2 separate regions of the Homo sapiens genome follow, and region 2 is linked to region 1. The links are contacts of gene promoters, found by promoter capture Hi-C in blood cells and fetal thymus (Javierre and others, 2016). All regions are on one chromosome and are shown on one strand. Each heading gives the region's core, a stretch centred on a gene start or on the middle of the fragment in contact. The rest is flanking DNA. Distances are from core to core; before and after follow the strand shown. Region 1 holds the start of IDUA (alpha-L-iduronidase). Region 2 overlaps PCGF3 (polycomb group ring finger 3).

The links. The method cuts DNA at HindIII sites, captures the fragments that hold promoters and counts their contacts. A CHiCAGO score of 5 or more calls a contact.
Region 2: a fragment that was not itself captured here is called in contact with the fragment with the promoter of IDUA in region 1 in 1 of 17 cell types (total B cells); the score reaches 5.1 in total B cells.

Annotation. Positions count from the first base shown.
Region 1 is chr4:982,743-989,399 of GRCh38, reverse strand. It overlaps IDUA (alpha-L-iduronidase), which reads right to left and starts at 2,356. Exons shown (of 14, transcript NM_000203.5): 1 at 2,158-2,356; 2 at 1,451-1,591. The coding sequence starts at 2,315. It overlaps SLC26A1 (solute carrier family 26 member 1), which reads left to right. Exons shown (of 3, transcript NM_022042.4): 3 at 1-1,743. The coding sequence ends at 567. RefSeq lists enhancers at 1-129, 2,710-2,769, 3,945-3,994 and silencers at 1,890-2,067, 1,850-2,499. The HindIII fragment of the contact is 17,691 bases long and covers 1-6,657 here.
Region 2 is chr4:763,651-770,064 of GRCh38, reverse strand. PCGF3 (polycomb group ring finger 3) reads right to left here. Exons shown (of 11, transcript NM_006315.7): 10 at 5,001-5,081; 11 at 1-4,033. The coding sequence ends at 3,986. All of the region lies in intron 1 of LOC124900163 (chloride intracellular channel protein 6-like), which reads left to right. It overlaps PCGF3-AS1 (PCGF3 antisense RNA 1), which reads left to right. Exons shown (of 3, transcript NR_171661.1): 2 at 5,018-5,153; 3 at 5,456-6,414. Among named protein-coding and RNA genes, the nearest start is that of PCGF3-AS1, 15 kb to the left of the region's middle. RefSeq lists enhancers at 377-1,318, 4,022-4,081, 4,171-4,718. The HindIII fragment of the contact is 2,409 bases long and covers 2,290-4,698 here.

The DNA of each region.
Region 1 (6,657 bases), core at 1,107-3,606:
GCCCGCATCGGGGACACGGCCTTCTACGAGGATGCCACAGAGTTCGAGGGCCTCGTCCCTGAGCCCGGCGTGCGGGTGTTCCGCTTTGGGGGGCCGCTGTACTATGCCAACAAGGACTTCTTCCTGCAGTCACTCTACAGCCTCACGGGGCTGGACGCAGGGTGCATGGCTGCCAGGAGGAAGGAGGGGGGCTCAGAGACGGGGGTCGGTGAGGGAGGCCCTGCCCAGGGCGAGGACCTGGGCCCGGTTAGCACCAGGGCTGCGCTGGTGCCCGCAGCGGCCGGCTTCCACACAGTGGTCATCGACTGCGCCCCGCTGCTGTTCCTAGACGCAGCCGGTGTGAGCACGCTGCAGGACCTGCGCCGAGACTACGGGGCCCTGGGCATCAGCCTGCTGCTAGCCTGCTGCAGCCCGCCTGTGAGAGACATTCTGAGCAGAGGAGGCTTCCTCGGGGAGGGCCCCGGGGACACGGCTGAGGAGGAGCAGCTGTTCCTCAGTGTGCACGATGCCGTGCAGACAGCACGAGCCCGCCACAGGGAGCTGGAGGCCACCGATGCCCATCTGTAGCAGGGCCAGGCCTGCCCAGCAGCCTCTGCTCCCTCCTGGGGACCCACAGCAGACGTCTGCAAGCCACTGCTGAGACCCTTCCCAGGGAGGAGCCACCCAAGAGCTGCACTCTTGTGCCACAGCTGCCCTGGGGAAACCGGGGAACCCCAACTGGGAAAGGAGGCCCTCTGATCACACGCAGGACCCAAACACTCAGAAATCAAGAACCTCTGCCTCCGAGACAGGCTGGCCCACAGTGCTGGCTGGGCCCCAATGCACCGTCCCTCAGCTCAGGAGGGATGGGCCTGACCTGACGCTCAGGGTTGACATCTTATTTGAACAAGGGTCCCCCGCCATCATGCAGCCTCCAAGGTGCCAAGAGGACTCCCTATGCCCAGGCCTGCCCGGTGCCCACCCTGCTGGTAGGAGCCAGCGGCTCTGGCCAAGTGCACGAGGGTCTCTGTGTTTCCAGAAGGCCCCACACACCCAAGTGCCCCTCACACCTCGTGCCTCCCCCTCACAGGGTGGCCACCTGCACCAGCGTCAGGGCCCAGGGTGCTGTGACCGATGAGACCTCAGCTCAGCCCTCAGGTGCAGTGGCCCTACCCAGCCTGGCCAGCAGACACACACAGGGATGCTCACGGGTGCACCAGGAGCCAGGTGCGGCGCAGCCAACCCTGAGCCTGCAGGGAGACCTGCAGGAAGCCCACCGTGCCCCATGCAGGGGCTCCCTCCAGCACACAGCCCTCACCCCAGCACAGCCAGCAAGGACACGCTCTCCCCAACAGGGTGCTTCGGCGGGAGGTGGGGGAACAAGGGGTCTTCCGAGCAGCCCCCAGCCCTCCCCTCCCATCTGTGCCTCTGTAAGGGGCTCTGGGACGCCCAGACCCTGCCCGCCGCCCACCTGGTGGTGACAAGCTCCAGCAGCCAGTGGGTCCGGACCTGCTTGATGCCGCGGTGAGGGACGGCGCCCACATAGGCGAGGTTGAGCTGCTGGTCCCAGCTGAGGACGTACTGGTCAGCCTGGCTGTGTGGCAGCGGGGGGCTGGGGACAACAAAGGGGCGGCTCAGTCCCGAGCCTCAGCATGGCTGGCAGCGCGGCTGACACACACGTTCAAGCCCAGGACTGCCCGGGCGCAGGATCCAGGCGCTGCCCGTGCGTTCAGTGACTAATAAAATGACCCTTAGGGCCAGGAATGTGGGGAGGTCCCATCTTCATGGGGAACGGCAGCAGCAGTAAGACGAGGGGCCAACGCCAGCCCTGGCCCTGGCCCTGCCAGGAAGGCGGGTACCTCAGCTCTAGGTGGAAGGAATGGGACAGGCAGGCCAGGTCCCGCTGCAGGGCCGTCCACTCCCAGGGGAGACTCCTGGTTTACCTCAAAGAGCAGGATCCCGGGCATCGGCCTGGGCTGCAGGGGGCGGCCCAGGCTCACGCCCCGGCGCCCACTCAGGTGGAGGACCCACCCACAAACACGGCGGGGGGCGGGCCCGGGAGAGCCAGGGCCCCAGAGGAGGGAGCTCCGGTCTCTGAAGCTCTCACAGTGCGCAGTCAGGGGGCGCCCGAGCTCTCCCCGTGCGGCCAGGGGGTCCCGGAGGCCGCGGAGCGCTCACCAGAAGCCTGTGCTCCTCCAGAAGCGCCGCAGGGGCCACAGCGCGCGGGCCGCGTCCACATGCACCAGGTGCGGGGCCTCGGCCGGGGCCACCGGGGGCGCGGCCAGGAGCGAGGCCAGGAGCGCCAGCAGCGCGGCGCGGGGGCGCAGGGGACGCATGGCCACGCGTGCTCGGGGACTGCGGGGCTTCGGGCTGCACTGCCGGTTCCGCCTCCGGGTCGGAGTCTGGGCGCGCACCCCATGTGACCGCCGCCGCGGGGCGGGGCCTTGGTGAGGGGGCGATGGCCGGGTGGGAGGGGTTGGGTGGCCTCGGGGAGCCTCGGGGAGCCGGGAGCACGGCAGGGCTTGGAGCCCCGCTTCCTTGCGGGCCTCAGGGGCTGCTCTGAGGACCGATGACTCGGAAAGCGCTCAGAAGAACGCTTCGCCCGTTGGTGCTATGTGAGTTGAGCCATTACTGTCTTGTTTTTCTCTGTTTTTGTGTGTTTTTGAGACAGAGTCTTGCTTTGTCGCCCAGGCTGAGGTGCAGTGGCGCGATCTCAGCTCACTGCAACCTCCATCTCCGGGGCTTCAGCGATTTTCTCACCCCAGCCTCCTGAGTAAAGCGTGCGCTTTAGCAGGAAGGAGAATTACCCCAGAAGAGCACACTGGGCCCTCCTTACACTTGGCTTCAGATCCATGGATTCAACCAAGCAGACTGAAAATATTGTTTTAAAGCCAAAGCAATACGAAATAATACATATTTTAAAACAATACAGTATAACAGCTATTTACAGAGCATTTACATTGTTTTAGGGACTATAAGTAATCTTGATTTAAACTACACAGTAGGATGTGCGTAGGTAATGTGCAAATACTGTGCCATTTTATATCAAGTACTTGAGCACCTGCAAATTTTGGTATCTGGGAGGGTCCTGGAACCAATACCCCGAGGATACCATGGGACAACTGTAGTACATGTGTAGTCCATGTATGCATGTGTGAATCCAAGCAAACATTGTATAAAAATAATAATGGAAAGAACAGGCTTGGTGCGGTGGCTCACACCTGCAATCCCAGCACTTTGGAATTGCAGGCCAACACGGGAGGATCACTTGAGGCCTGGAGTTTGAAATCGGCCTGGGAGATGTACCAAGACCCCATCTGTACAAAAAAAAAATTTAGCCAGATGCGATGGTATATGCCTGTGAGGCCCAGCTACCCACGAAATTGAGGTGGGAGATTGCTTGAGCTTAGGAGTTCAAGGCTGAGACGGGCCATGATCACACCACTACATTCCAGCCTGGTTGACAAAATGAGACCCCATCTCTAAAAAAAGAAAAGAAAAAAAGAACAGTCTACTAACAAAACGAAAATACTGGACAATAATCCTCTCTAAGTTGGGAGAAGGATAATTAGAGTTACAGTGTTCTGGGTCTTTTTATTTTGGGGAGAGGGGTTAAAATATTGCTTAACATTAGGTCTTCTTATGTTGAAATTGCATTAAAAGTGATTAGCCATTTAAAAGTGAAATAGTGTGTATATATTCCAAATTAGCAAGGAGGAAAAACATAATACAAAAAAATTCATTAAGAAACTAAAAAGTAAGAAAGGGAGGGAAAGGCGAGAGAAACCATGCAAGTACAGAACTGTCTCCAGGAACAGCGGGGTAAGACCCTCAGTCCAACGACCCCAGAGAAAACAACTAAAATGATGGATAACTCGCTTTAAAAACAATTCCTCAAAGCGTCAGAGAACTGAGAAAAACAGTAAGAAACCACCAGTCCCACACCGTGGTGCAGGACACAGCAATGGAAACTGAATTGTTTCAGACCAGCCGCCTCCTGAGAGCAACCATCAGAACTGGAGAGCGCTGAACGGAACCGTCCAGGGCACTGGGAGCTCTGAGGAGCCTCTGAGGCCTCGGGGCTCTGCAGGGACAAGCCGGGAGGGGGCGGGGCCCGCTTTGGGGCGGCGACTCCACACCCCTGCAGCGTATCCCAGCCACACAAGACATGGCGACACGCTGCTGCGTTCGTTCCTCACACTGTGGCCACAGGACAGAAGTCGAGGCTCAGGCGGGGGGCCTGGTAAAGACTTTGGGTTTTTCTTGGGACCCCAAAGTTCTATCCCCTAAAAGCAAAGGTAAACCAGCAACAGAATTGTCTTTGTGGGGACTGAAGCCAGCCTTAAATCACCTCAAGCCCTGAGAGAATTAAGGTGAGCCGCTCACCGGGACACCTGTGGACAGAAAAGTACACCTTCCCTGGAGGAAGGTAAAACAAAACAAAAACAGACAGAAGTCCTCACTGCACGGTGCTGGAATGGATCCGGGTCAGGAAAAATTATTACAAAGTGCATGATGGGGACATTCACAATTTGGAATATGCCTTGTACATTGTGCAACAAAATTCTACCAATGATAAACTCCAGAATTTTTTTTGTTTTTGTTTTTTGTTTTTTTAAACGAAGTCTCACTCTGTTGTCCAGGCTGGAGTGCAGTGGTGCGATCTCAGCTCATTGCAACCTCTGCCTCAGCCTCCTGAGTAGCTGGGATTACAGGCATGAGCCACCACGCCCAGCCAATTTTTGTATTTTCAGTAGAGACAGCGTTTTACCATCCTGGCCAGGCTGGTCTCGACCTCCTGACCTCGAATGATCCACCTGTCTCGGCCTCCCAAAGTGCTGGGATTATAGGCATGAGCCACCGCGCTGGGTCAAACTCCAGAATTATTAAACGACTCAATGATTGCATCACGGTTGTGAATGGAGATTTTTTGTTCATTTGTGATCCATGCTGAAGGGTTTAGAGGTGAAGAATCAATAGATTTGTAACCAAAGTTGCTCTGGAAATTAAAGCAAAACAATAAATTTAGATTACATACAGAGACTGAGATAAAAGCAAAGGTAGCAAAATATTAACAGTTGGTGAACCTGGGTGAAAACTATATACTGTTATTGCAACTTTTCTGTGAGTTTGAAATTTTTCAAAATGAAAACATTGAAAAAAATATTAAAACCTCATGAAACTTAGTAAAAATTTATTGAATGATACACTTGAACTTGCTTCATTTTATTGTATGTAAATCATATCTCAGTAAAGCTGATAACGAATTGGTTTAACAGCAAATTAAATCCAACTAGGCTGAGCAAGGTGGCTCATGCCTGTAATCCCAGCACTTTGGGAGGCTGAGGCGGGCAGATCACCTGAGGTCAGGAGTTCGAGACCAGCCTGGCCAACATGGTGAAACCCTGTCTCTACCAAAAATACAAAAATTAGCCGGGCGTGGTGGCATGCGTCTGTAATCCCAGCTACTCAGGAGGCTGAGGCAGGAGAATTGCTTTAACCTGGGAGGCAGAGGCTGCAGTGAACCAAGATCACGTCACTGCACTCCAGCCTGGGCAACAGAGTGAGACCCTGTTTCAAAAAGAAAAGACAAAATTAAATGGTGTTCTTCAAGTAGAAAGAATGATGTCCCAAATCCCAGCTCAGAGGTGCAGAGGAAGAAGTGAAGAGTGCGGGGGGAAGGGAAAACCTCCCCTGCCTTTCTGAAGTTTCACTAAAAGGGTACACAGATTTCTTGGATTGTAGTTTTATGTGACACAGCAGCTTTCAGAGCAAAGACCTAAAGGCGCAGGGGAAACCACATTTTTATACTCAGGTTCTGTGAATCTGGAAATAGGATTGGACGAAAGGTTAAGACCTGACAGGCTAACAGACTCCTGGGGGAGCCCAGCGAGGCCCATCTGCTTCGGTTCCTGGAGGCCTCTCTCTGCAGCTCTCCCTCCTGCTGGGTGGGGGCACAACGCCCCGGAATAGGGGTCTGACCACATACAGTCAAACAAGGCAGGCCAGAGAATTCCTTTATGGCCAGTTTTTACACAGAAAGACAGAGAAAAGTTATTAGAGTCATACTTTTAGGTTTATGGCTGGCTTTGGGGAAAAGGGGCTTAGGTTTCTACGACCTGCCTGGGACAATGAGGGGCCAGAGACAGGAGGCAGGAGAAGGCCTGGCTTCCAAGGCCTTCACTCTGGGTGACATTTTCTGAACCCCAACAAAAGCAACAGAAACGGTATATTGTGTATAAACCTAATGAATCGTAACCGCATAAAACAATCATGTTACAGGGTTTCACATATTTCTGGGGAATTAGGATTTACAGCAAGAGTGGCACAGGTGCTGTATGGGAAAAGTGAAGTGAGAGGGGAGGAGAGCCTCCTGAAGACGCCCTCCGTCCTGTCCAGGCCCGCGCCTGTCGCCTCACATGGCGAGCGCCTGCAGGCATGGTTCCGTGAAGCATCCAAGACGTAGAGATGATTCTAGTTATCCGAGTGGGCCCTGAGTGTAATCCCAGTGTTCCTATACAGGGGAGACGGAGGGGGGTTTGACACAGAGGAGGCTGTAACGGCCTCAGGAGAGATTGAAAGATTGTTCTAAAATGTGTCCCCAGGGTTTATTTCAGTGAGGTGTGGGGAGACACACGGACCCGGCCACGACAGGCCAGGAGGAAGGCCTTGCTGTGT
Region 2 (6,414 bases), core at 2,245-4,744, 220 kb after region 1:
CAAGCATATAATATTAATTGGCAAAACACTGAATACAAGCTTCACTATCATAAAATCAAAACATTTAAGCAATATTCCAAAAAAGATTTGACAAAAACTAGCCACCAAGAGTACAAAAATTACACACCAACACAAAGCATAAAAAATGTAAACTTTCAAATTAAACAGTCAAACACATGTATCTTCGTGATCACCTCCACACCTCGACTGCCTTCGTCTGCCGTACGCTGCTGGTAAAGGCTGGGTGGCTGCACTGTCTTCCCCAACCCAACATTGCTTTCGTCTGGGAAAATGCGTCTGATAGGCAATTAAGCCATGGGAGTGGACATTTACACGGAGGCTACGCACATCTCAGGGGAACGCTCAAACTGCAGCTCGTTCCTCAGACGCACTGTTGGGTGCGAAGGACACCTGGAGGGTGAGGGAGACCTCGGCGCGTTCCTGCAGGGCCTTGGCCACGTGGCCATTGCCCGCACCCTGTCCCGTACAAATTATGGTATCATTTGAATGATTTTCTAATCTACTTATCTCAATTTATGTATTTAAATGTCAAGGCAGAGAAATACATTGATCATGTTAAGGTCATGTGATGTGGTGGCGCAGTAATGACTTCCTGAGGAAACAGAGAAATTGGATGTTTTGTGATTTAGCTATGTGCACTAAACTTATTTTCCATGTTTTGAGAGCACATTAAACATTCACGTACAACGTGGGACTAGGTTGGCTTGTACCCAGAACGTCCAACCCAATGCCACCCTTTGAATCGCTGTGAACACTGTTCTGTTGCTGTTCAGAGAAAACAAGCAAGGCTGCGAAGCCCGGGGGTGCAGGCAGCTGCAGTGCTTGGGCCAGGGCAGCTCCGCTCTTGTGGTCTGAGGCCACATGGCCCTGCCCAGGGGCAGCCTGGCCACAAGCACGTGGGGTCCAAGGCACCAGGACCCAGGCAGGACTGAGGTGGCCCCACAGCGTGGCCCGAGGCATCACTGGCTGACGGGCACTCACACACAACCCCAATAACAGCATTCTCACAATAATAACAATGAAAAACGAAAAACCAAACAGCTGAATGTACATATTTTGGAATTCCATCTATGTTCCCTTTCAATTTAGCAAAATAAATGCTACATTACCATTTAAACAGATGTCTAATAAATGCATATTGGAACCTATTGCACAAAAGCATAAAAAATGCTCTTCATCCACATAAAAACATACAAATTAAAAGCTACTCAAAGTAAAAAGAAGCTTGCAAAACATCTCACAATTTCATTTTATATGCCTGTAAATAAAGCTGGACCACTGAAACCAAACAATTGGATGGGAAAATATGATAGAAGGCTTAAAATAGAATAAATAATTTTATAAAGTTAAGTTTTCTTTTTTAACCCCCCAAATCTTAAATTCAATATTATATATTCTATTTGAATTTTCTATGTCCATGAAAACTGCATCGGTGAGACCGTATTCCGGGTAATTAGCCCCACTGCTGTTGAAAACGACGCATAAGGTGATTTAACAGCATTTGTTTTACCAGCATAAATAGTTGTGAAAACTTCTTCACAGTAACTCCATCTGTTTAAAAAAAAAAAACCAATAGAATCCAACCACTAACCGATCCTGGCTTTCATGCTGGAAAAAATGAAATTCAGCCTTTTTCTGTGAAATGAGAGGTTGACAGAAAGGAAAGAAGGCCGCCCAGAGGCTCCACAGACGGCAGGGCCATTGCGCTCCAGCCTCCAACGACTAAGGCTGCAAGGTCAGACGAGAGGCAGAGGCCCCAGGGCCGAGTCCTGTAGTGAAGACTGTCTGCACGATGAACTCCTAGAAAAATAGGGACTTCTGCTGCTGAGGTTTTGTCAGGTTAACGCGGTTACAAAAGCAGGGTCACCACTGGCTGAAGACATCGACACGGGCGCCACTCGCCCGTCTGTGTATTTAAATCTATCAGCTTAGCACCATTGCAAAGTCAAGTGATTTCAAAGATAGCTACAAAGTTACAAATATATATTATGAGATTATTACAATGATATTCAGTTTCATCTGAACTGTGATTTAATTTTATTTGAATTTGGAGGCTTGTAACTGTTTAATCCTTTCTTATTCCGCCACACAGGAAAATGCCTAAGTTCTAACGTTACACTTAAAACTGCACTGTGATAACACACGGTTGTACAGAATGCTTCAGCAGTATGTGTATTTTGAGGTAGACAGGTAATATTTATTCATACACAGCTACTCATAGACCCTTATACAGTGACTCTAGAAAATGATTTGGATGAATAGCAAGCTTAGGTAACTGAGTAACTCAAACCGTCCTGGGAGTTGATGGGCTTAAAGAAAGAGATGAATTTTGACCAATTCCTAACAAAGAACTTGCTTTTGTTTTAAAAGGCCTTACACTGACAATCACTCAGATGGAATTAATATGCATGTTTTTCTCATCCCTAAGATAAGGTCTCTTGAGCTGCTTTTTATCTAAAGGAAGCAGAAGAAAACAGCGAAATTCAAGAAAAAAAATCTCCAAGGTGGTTGGCTTCTTGGAAAGCCTGAATGGTGGCCAAGGACCACCTGGGCTCCCAAGGAGTGGAGGGAGGAGGGATTCAGTTCCACAGGAAATAAATGGGAACAGCCCGGTGGAGAAGACAATGACAACTGCAGGACAACACCTCAACCACTCCAGAAAACAGCCCTTGCTCCTCCTTCTGGCCTTTTCATATTTCCAAGTTACTGTTTTAAAGGAAAAAAAAAAATGTGTGTGTGGCTGTTTATTCTCTAATGTGACAAAAACATGACCATCCGGGAGGAGAGGGGCTAACGGTGCAACCAACTGAGGCTGAAACACAGATTCAGCTGAAATGCAGCTTCTGCAGAGCGGGGGCCGGCTTCCCTCCTAGCCCTTCAGCTGCTCACCCTGTCCCTGCAGCTCTGAAAAACGCCCTTCCAGTAAGCGGCCAAGGAGCACACGAGCTCCTCCCACCAGCAAAGGGGAAGGGGAGGCCTTGGACAGACGGGGCAGTGAGTGTGTCTGGGCATGAGCCCGAAGCCACCACCAGCAAATCCTCCCCACGGATGCCAGGAGAGCTCTGATCCTAACCACCACCACCTCTCCCTTCAGCAAAATCAAAACAGGGAAAGAAAACATAGGAAACCAAACGGCGGCACTCAACAATTTGGGGGAACAAGTAATTTTTAAAAGTAAGAGTTGTTCCGTAAACCAGCACTGAGCTGGTCACACGGCCTCTGGTCTACCTGCTGAGCATGTCAGAAATCCCGACGTGGCGTCTGGGGCCCCGTTTCCAGGGCTGGGTGTGTCAGCCACAGGTGAGCGACAGTTCTGAGTGAGTCCAAGTGCCGACCTCACACAATGAAAGGCGAACCAGTCAGGGAGCTGCTGTTGTGTTTCATAAGGTGGGAAATTAAATACAATGGTTAAATCATAATGTTAATGGAAACCTCTTTTGGTTTGCTTTTAAATTAATTTTTTATATAACTTCTAAATCTTCAAGAAGCTAAAGGCAACATAAATATTGTCATTCACCATGAAAAGACATTTTTTCAATAACTTAGGAAGGATTCAATAAAAGTCCAACTACACTTGAGGCTTATCATGAAACCTAAAATTCATAAACTAAACTGAAGTGAATTCAGATTTTCAAGACCTGGAAAGCAAGCAGAGGGAGCTCGTGTCAGAAGGTGACTCAGAACCGTGTTGCCTGGAGCATCACTCTCCCTGCAAGGCTGAAGCACGGGGTGGGGCGGGGGAGAGGACGATCGGCTCTGGGAGACTGTGAAGTGTTTTCATCCTCTGTAAACGTGGTGCTGGTAGTGTCTTGTTGAGTGTGAATTCTCTCTCATACAAAAGTTATAAATATTCTCTATTCAGAAGTCTGGTCCACATGACACCCAGAGGCAATGTTCTTAAGCGCGGCGGCCGGGAGCACCCAAGGGTGCGAGGGCCCAGTCTGTGGGCGCTGTGTGGCACCATTCACAGCAAGTCCATCTTGGGTCTGTAGTGCAGCAGGAGCGGCGCCTTCTGGAAGACACAAGAACGCACAGTGCCTGCTTAGCAGGGGTGGAGGCGAGAAGGACCTACTTCATCGGGAAGGGTGCTGAGGAATCACGTCCCGTGAGGCACAGTCCACATGCAGGGCTGCACAGAGACCCTTCTGTTCTGAGCAACAGAAGGGTCCCCCAGAAGTTGCTGGGGGAAGACGGGCTAGGAAGACATGTGCCCTCTCCCCTGGCCCCAGGTGACCCAGTGACCACTGTGCACACCGTGGTGGCCACCTGTACCTGATGTGGCCCTGGCTGCCACTCCCCTGCCCCCTTCTCCCTCAAACCCTCTGGCCCAGCCCCAGGCCAGCCTTGGCTCCTCCCCCTCTCCCCAGGCAGCAACACCAGCTGAGGTGGGAGAGTTCCACCATTGGTTTCCTGCTTCAGAGGGGCCCAAAGGCCCCAGGGGACCCTCTGCTCATGGCACTCATGGCCTCAGCACTTTCCCACCAGGGCCTGTGCCCTTCGCAGCTCAGCTGGCACCTTCCAAGCTGGCTCTGGGGTTGATGATTTCAGAAAGACCAGAACTGTGTTTCACAACAATTTCTGTAGCTGAGTCATCACTTTTTTTTTTTTTTTGAGACAGAGTCTCCCTCTGTCGCCTAGGTTGGAGTGCAGTGGCACGATCTTGGCTCACTGCAAGCTTCGTCTCCCGGGTTCACACCATTCTCCTGCCTCAGCCTCCTGAGTAGCTGAGACTACAGGTGCCCACCACTACGCCTGGCTAATTTTTTGTATTTTTAGTAGAGATTGGGTTTCACCATGTTAGCCAGGATTGTCTGGATCTCCTGACCTCGTGATCCGCCCGCCTCGTCCTCCCAAAGTGCTGGGATTACAGGCATGAGCCACTGCACCCAGCTGGAGTCATTTAACATTTTAGATAAGAGATGCACAGCAAAGTCACTGCCATTCAGAGCAGACTCTGAAAATCAAATCACGTGTCTCACCTTGAATCTCCACCTAGTGACAACCACGAACTTGAGTGTGTGGTCCTTGCCCAGGATCTCCTCGTTGCATAAAATGTCCAGCTGGGGGATAAGGAGGTTTGATTAGCAGCGGAGAGGTGCTCAACCCACACTGACATGGCCACCTTGATGCTGGTATGAAATCTGCAGCCCCTCCCCAATCATGCAAGAACGTGCCTAGAGATGGGGTGGGGGGGGCTGGTTCATGTATTCCTCCATCCCTACCTCACAGCCTAGAGATGGAGTGTGGTCCCTACCTCACAGCTGAACGGAAATCCAGTGCAACATATAAGATATTACAGGGCAGGCCCGTGCCAGTTAGGGGGATGACGTTTCTGCAGGGGGTGCAGGCGCAGGCACAAGCTCCTTGCAGTGGTGGGCTCCCATCCCGCCCCTATCTGGCCTGCAGCTGCCCTGAACCCTTTTTCTCTTGACAGGCCCCATCACACCCTGTCTACCACACCTGCCGTACTGAGCAACGGGAAGAGGTGGTTTGCAGCCCCATGAGCAGCCCTGACAGCTCCGGAATCGGGCACCCTGGTTCCCCAGGTGGCACAGGTGCCTGAGAGGCCCATAGGGCCGAAGTGTTTCCCTCCCCATCCCACCCAGGCCCAGTCCACACCAGCCCCCTCCCACGGCTGCAGCCTCCAGGGGCACCCTCTCCCCACAGGCCCTACCTCCGGTCCAGGCTGTCCCTCCCTCTCACCATAGTGCAAAAATGCACTAGGCTCCCCAGTCTTTTAAAAAAATTAGACTTTTTAAAGAACAATTTAAGGTTTACAGCAAAATTGAGAGGAAGGTACAGGGAGTTCCCGTCCCCCTTGGAACCCCCCTGCCACCAACACCCTGCATGGGGGCACATTAGTCACCACCCAGGAACCTGCACTGACATCACCTCCACCGAGTCCAGAGCGGATGTCAGGTCGCCCTGGTGGCACAGCCACAGGTGGACAAACAGCAGCATCGCCGCCCAGGAGCCCTGTGCCCGCCCACTCCTACTACCCTCCTCAAGCCCCTGCAGCCTCCGGATGGTTCTGCCTTTTCCAGTGCGCCATGCTGCAGAGCTGGAGTCGCACGGCCTACAGCCTTTTCAGAGGGGCTTCTCTACTTAGTAACAGGGACTTGATGTTTCTCCCATGTGCCTGCTCTTGGCCCGACTGCTCATTTCTTTTCAGTACTGGATAATAGTCCAGTATGGATGCACCACGGTTTATTTTTCCACTTATCTACTGAAGGGCATCTTGGTCGCTTCCAGGTTTTGGTAATTATGAAGAAAGATGCTATCAACATCCGGGTGCAGGTTTTTGTGTGGGCAGGAGATTTCCAGTGGGTAAATGACGAGGTGTGGCTGCTGGGTGGTTTGCCGAGAGTGTGTTTCGTGTTGTCAGCAGCTGCC